Regions from separate parts of the Homo sapiens genome. Here region 1 is linked to region 2. The links are contacts of gene promoters, found by promoter capture Hi-C in blood cells and fetal thymus (Javierre and others, 2016). All regions are on one chromosome and are shown on one strand. Each heading gives the region's core, a stretch centred on a gene start or on the middle of the fragment in contact. The rest is flanking DNA. Distances are from core to core; before and after follow the strand shown.

What was found. Contacts are between HindIII fragments. The CHiCAGO score rates a contact against its expected background, and 5 or more counts as called.
Region 1: a fragment that was not itself captured here is called in contact with the fragment with the promoter of CAND1 in region 2 in 1 of 17 cell types (neutrophils); the score reaches 5.3 in neutrophils.

The regions. Positions count from the first base shown.
Region 1 is chr12:71,852,965-71,856,086 of GRCh38, forward strand. All of the region lies in intron 1 of TBC1D15 (TBC1 domain family member 15), which reads left to right. Among named protein-coding and RNA genes, the nearest start is that of TBC1D15, 15 kb to the left of the region's middle. The HindIII fragment of the contact is 4,970 bases long and covers 1-3,122 here.
Region 2 is chr12:67,267,993-67,271,096 of GRCh38, forward strand. It overlaps CAND1 (cullin associated and neddylation dissociated 1), which reads left to right and starts at 1,366. Exons shown (of 15, transcript NM_018448.5): 1 at 1,366-1,793. The coding sequence starts at 1,726. RefSeq lists enhancers at 502-801, 942-1,201, 1,481-2,132. The HindIII fragment of the contact is 8,089 bases long and covers 1-2,595 here.

The DNA of each region.
Region 1 (3,122 bases), core at 365-2,864, 4.6 Mb after region 2:
GTGTTTTTATAGCAATGCCCATTTCTGATACCAATTTTCTGTATTAGTCAATACTCACTGCTATAAAGAAATATCTGAGACTGGGCAATTTATAGAGAAAAGAGGTTTAATTGGCTCACAGTTCTTCAAGTTGTAAAGGAAGTGTGGTGCTGGCATCTGCTCAGGTTCTAGGGAGGACTCAGGAAACTTACAATCATGGCGGAAGGCAAAGAGCGAGCCAACACTTCACATAGAGCAGGAGGAATAGAGAGAGGGGAGGTGCCACATACTTTTAAACAAAATCAGATCTCAGGAGAACTCACTATTGACATGACAGCACCAAGGGAGATGGTGCTAAACTGAGAAACTGCCCCCATAATTCCATTACCTCCCACCAGGCCCTGCCTCCAACATTGGGGATTACAATTTAACATCAAATTTGGGCAGGGACACAGATCCAAACCATACCACCCTCCCAGAGTGCTGGGATTACAGGCGTGAGCCACTGCACCTGGCCGAGTTGTGACTTTAGTGTCTTGAACATATGGGATAGACTTAAAATAATACTTTAATATCCTTCACTACTATTTGTGTTGTTTTGTGGTCAATTGTAATTGATTACTTTTTTTGTTATAGGTCATATTTTCCTGGCTCTTAGCATGCCTTAGTGGTAAATTTTTTACTGGATGTCAGATATGTTGAATTCTCTTTTTGGGTGCTAGATATTTTTGTGTTCTGTAAAATACTATTGAGTTTTGTGTTAGAAGGCACTTAAGTTGCTTGGAGTCAGTTGGGTACTTTTGGGTCTTGCTTTTAAACTTTGCTAAATGGTATCAGCACTGCATTTAGTATAGAACTAATTTTGCCTCACTGATGAGGCAAGGGAGTGCTTTGTGAATTATGAGATTTCCCACTCTGACTGGTGCAAACAGTTATGTGAGCCTGCAGATAGTTTCTTCTAATAGTTTCCCTCTCGCCTTGAAGAGTTTACTGACAAACATGCACTGTTCCATACTCTGCTGAATACTCGAGGAAGACTGCAGATTTCTTGAGTTCCCTGTGTGTTCTTCTCTTTTCTCTGGTACTTTCTCCTGTGAACTCTAGCTGTATTGGCATCCCCTATTTCCCACATCTCTCTCCTCACTGGACACCTTCTGAGTTTTCTCTCCCTTTCCCATAGCTGGGAACACACAACATAAAGCTAGACAATTGTATTGCTCACTTCATTTGGTTCCTTTCTCTCAATAGTCACTATCCTTCATTGTTTGCTGGGGAGTATCATGAAAACTATTGTTTCACAGATTGGTCAGTATTTTTAGTTTAGTTTATTATTATTATTATTTTTCTGGTGGGAGGTTAAATCCAGCCTGTCATTCCATCTTGGCCAGAAGTGGAAGTTTTTATATAGGGTTTCTTTTTCCTTTCTGTTTTTGGTGGAATTAATACCTATCTCTTCTGTACATCTTTTTTCCCCTTCAATCGTAGGCTGAATGTTTGTGTTCCAAATTTGTTCTCTTTGTTGTTATGAACTCTTAAGATGGTTTTTTCTCCCAAGATTTTACCATTTCCTTCTTGTTGGCCTGCATTAATTCTCTTTTCTGTTCTGTACCTTCTGACAGGCGACATTATCAGCAAGATATTCAAGAATTTTAACAGATGGTATGTATTTAGAGAATGTGCCAGTAGATGTTTGGATAGCTGAAGGTCATCATCATATACATAGAGTGGTTTTATACCAGTTTGTAATTTGTATTAAAGTGTCTTTTTTCTTCCTTCTCATTGATAGTCTGTATAATCTTCCAAAACAATTGCATTCCTCTCCCCCCCACCTTCTTTTGCAGATTCGCTTGGTGACAGGTGGTGCTACTTCCTCAAATCTTTGATCTGTTCTTCCCTTTCTTTTTCTCAAGGTATATTTTTTCATTGTTGAATTTGTATCATGTTTTCCATCAGACAAAATTCCTTCAGTACCCTTGAGATTTGATTTAGATCCTATTTAAGACTTTACATTTTGTGTATTAGTCCGTTATCACACTGCTATAAAGAAATACCTGAGACTAGGTATTTTATAAAGGAAAGAGGTTTAATTGACTCACGGTTTCGCATGGCTGGGGAGGCCTCAGGAAACTTCATGGCAGAAGGCGAAGGGGAAGCAGAAGCAAAGCATGTCTTACATGGCGGCAGGAGAGAGAGAGTGCTCAGGGGAAACTGCCACTTTTAAACCATAAGACCTTGTGAGAACTCCCTCACTATCCTGAGAACAGCATGGGGGAAACTGTCCTTATGATCCAGTCACCTCCCACTGGGTTCCTCCCTCAACGTGGGGTTTACAATTTGAGATGAGATTTGGGTGGGGATACAGTCAAACCGTATCATTTTGTGTTTATCACCAGTAATTTTTAGCATTTTTGTTGTAAAAATTCATATAGTGAAAATCATACTTACCATATAGCTGAATGAATCATAAGGCAAACTTGTAATCACAGCTTAGGTTAAAAAATAGACCTTTGCCAGGAGATTGAGACCATCCTGGCTAACACGGTGAAACCCTGTCTCTACTAAAAATACAAAAAAATTAGCCAGGCGTGGTGGTGTGTGCCTGTAGTCCCAGCTACTTGGGAGGCTGAGGCAGGAGAATGGTGTGAACCCGGGAGGCAGAGCTTGCAGTGAGCCAAGATCGCACCACTGCACTCCAGCCTGGGTGACAGAGCGAGACTCCATCTCAAAAAAAAAAAAAAAAAAAAAAAAAAGACGTTTGCCAATAACTCCAGATGACCTTCCACGTACCACCCCTTGTCTCCTAAGAAACAGTTATCCTAACTTTTATCATAATCACTTTCTTGCATTTCTTTATTAGTAGTAGTATTAAAACATAGCTATTGTGTCTTTTTTAAAAAATGGTTCTTCCATATCTTCTACTTAGTATTACTGGGTTTTTAAGAGTTTTGTTTTTCTTAATCAGTTGCACCTTTTGTCTTGTTATTGTATGTGGTTTTTTTTGGGGGGGGGTATCTTGTTCAAATTTCAATTTAAATTCATTTAATCAAATACATTATTTCTTGATTTTAAAAGATTGGACCATACAGAAATTATGGTTCACCCTGCCCCCATACTGCCAAACCACCCAACTTGATTTTGACACT
Region 2 (3,104 bases), core at 116-2,615:
AAGTTTCATCTGTTTTATTAACTCCTATTGCCTGACTTTGAAGTACTCAGTAATAGTTGATGAATACAGAAAACAATGGTAAAGGTCAGGTAGATTTGATCGGATTTGAGTTATGTGTTAGTAGAGAGCTATTTAAAGGTTTGTTGTTGTTTTTAACAGGAGTATCAAGTGAGATTGATTTTTCATCTCTTCACCAGGCTCTCTGTTCTTTTAGAAAGGCCTGTCAGCTAGCTCCATCCCTAACACTTTCAGGGATGTTGACCCCTAGCTGGCAAAACTTGTGTTTAAAATCCCAAATATTAAGCAGATGAAAAACTTGGATACTAAATACTTTCATAACTCATCTCCACGAATTTGTACGTCTGAGGGAGCAATACACAGCTGCAGGTCCATCAAGGCCACAAAAGCTAACTACAGAGATAGTCTTTTAGCTATTTTGAAATCAGTAGGGCCTGACTACAGCCATCTGTCGCATACCCATTACTCTTACTAAGGTCCTGCTGGCGTCAGAGAGGTGGTTCTACGATGCACGGTAGGAGTGTGTCTGGCCAGAGAAGTGGGGAGGCTCAGCTGCCTTGGGAGGTGCAAGTAGTAGCGCTAGGAAGCTGCTGCTAGGCCTCTGGCAAGAACACCAACTGATCCGCAATGCGCCTGGCCAAACTGCAGCAGCCTGCTCTGCAAATACTGCATAACAGAAAAAGCCTGTATTGGAGAATATAAGAATCCGCGGCAGAAACGGAGTGCGCGACGATTCTAAGGTTTTTACCCAGCACGGCTCCCCCATCAGACTGCAAATCCCAGCATTCACTCCTTCCACGGGAGCCAATGAGGAAGCTACTAGTTCCCGCAGCCAATCACATTCTGAGCCAGTGTATCACCCGACTGAATTCTGGGATTTGTGGTTTTTACGTGGCAACATTACACCACGGTGGCTACGGCAATGCAGGCCACGCGTCTGATCCCAAACGACACCTCCCTGTTATAAATTCTTATGTTGGTTCCGCAAGCTAACTCCTTAACTGTCGTTACTCCCAGGCTTCCTCCTTCTCAAAGCTCGTAATCTTTTTCTCTTAATGTCATTAAACAATCAAGTTATTTTCAGATTAAGGCCCACTTGCTCCACTCGTCCCCTGTCCCTTAACCGTCGCTTTAGAGTCTCGCGAGAACAGCCCCTTTTTTTTGTGTTGTCATGCCTCCAAAAGGCGGGTCACATGAAAACTGACACAGGCTTCAGCCAACCGAATTGTTTTTTAACTCTCTTCTCCACAGCGTGCGTGGGGAGGCCTCCGTGAACTCTGACCTTAGCTTTCCGTAGCGCCCGCGTCTGCCGCCCCCGCCCCCGGAGCGAAGGAGGCGGGCTTTGGCCTTTTGCCCTAGGGAGCGAGTGCGGAGCGAGTGGGAGCGAGACGGCCCTGAGTGGAAGTGTCTGGCTCCCCGTAGAGGCCCTTCTGTACGCCCCGCCGCCCATGAGCTCGTTCTCACGCGAACAGCGCCGTCGTTAGGCTGGCTCTGTAGCCTCGGCTTACCCCGGGACAGGCCCACGCCTCGCCAGGGAGGGGGCAGCCCGTCGAGGCGCCTCCCTAGTCAGCGTCGGCGTCGCGCTGCGACCCTGGAAGCGGGAGCCGCCGCGAGCGAGAGGAGGAGCTCCAGTGGCGGCGGCGGCGGCGGCAGCGGCAGCGGGCAGCAGCTCCAGCAGCGCCAGCAGGCGGGATCGAGGCCGTCAACATGGCGAGCGCCTCGTACCACATTTCCAATTTGCTGGAAAAAATGACATCCAGCGACAAGGACTTTAGGTGAGGCCGAGATCCGACCCTCACCCCACCTCGGGGTTCTCGCAGCCGCGGCCCTGGCCGTCACGCAGGCCTTGCCCCACCCCTTCGGCCGTAGCCGGTAGCTTCTCTGCCCCGAAGTCTCCAGCCCACCGGTCCGCTGGCCTCCCGATCCCTGCGGAGCCCCTTTCCTCTCCCCTCTTGCAACCCCCTCCCCCCATTCTTTCTCCTAGGCAGTTGCCCGCCGCGGTCTCTAGGCCCCGTTTGCTTGTCTCAGCGCCCCCACATCCTTCCCTGCCCCACCAGGAGGCGATTCTTGCGTCTCAGGTAGCGCGAAGGGGCTAAACCACCCACCATTGTGGAGAAGGGAGTTGCTCTAGGCCGGGAGACCGGGCGCCGGGCCTATTCGCTTGCCATCCTGCGGCGCTAGGCCGCCTTGCTCGCTGGGGCCCAAGCTGCTGCCCACTCGGGGACCCGGCAGCCTCCTCTCTGCCCGCAGGTGCGCGTGGGCCTTGCTGCATTCAGGTGGAATGATGAACTTTTGCGCTCTTGGCTGATACATAGTTCTTTTGTGGATTATTAATTTTCGTGAAGGTGGGAAGAAGGGGGAGGGGAGCCAGGATGGAGGAAACTTCGCTCATAGGGTTTTCCCGCCAGCATCACTGTCAGTTCCTCTTGTCAGGTAAAACCAACTTAGGAACTCGGGGTTTCAGTCTCATGTCCTCATATCCAAAATCACTGCCAAAGGGGTGGATTGCTGGATCTTAATCATAGCAGACGGATCTTCAAAAGGAAGAGATGTTTAATACGGACCTGGTGAATATGAAGCTTTATTACAGCAGTTCTGTTCAGGAGATCGGTACTGTTGGTTCCAAAGTGTTGTAATATGCATAGTGAAGATTTGTTATATTTTTACAGGTTATCTTTGTTTTTATTTTTCCTTGCACGCTTCGGTGATTGTTGCATTCTTTCCCGCCTCCCATCTCTTCACAAATAAGTTCTCAATCTAAAAAAAAAAAAAAAAAGAAAAAAAAATCGCTTATTTCCTTATACCTGTTTTGTTCTCTAATGCTTAGTGGTTGTAATTTGGGTGCATTTTAAAGGAAATAACAAATAGTCTTCAACTAAAATTGTGACTAAAGAGCTTGTTTGTTTTGTATGAACAATATGTTTTAACACTTGAAAATGTGTCCAAACCGTGTGGACTGGGAAGAACTTTTCGGATTTGTGAAAGGAGAACCATGAAAAAGTAGTAATTGTGTTCCTGATTAAATTGATATACTGGCTTATTAAAATAATCAATGACCACAAAACCACGTATTACTTTAAAAAATA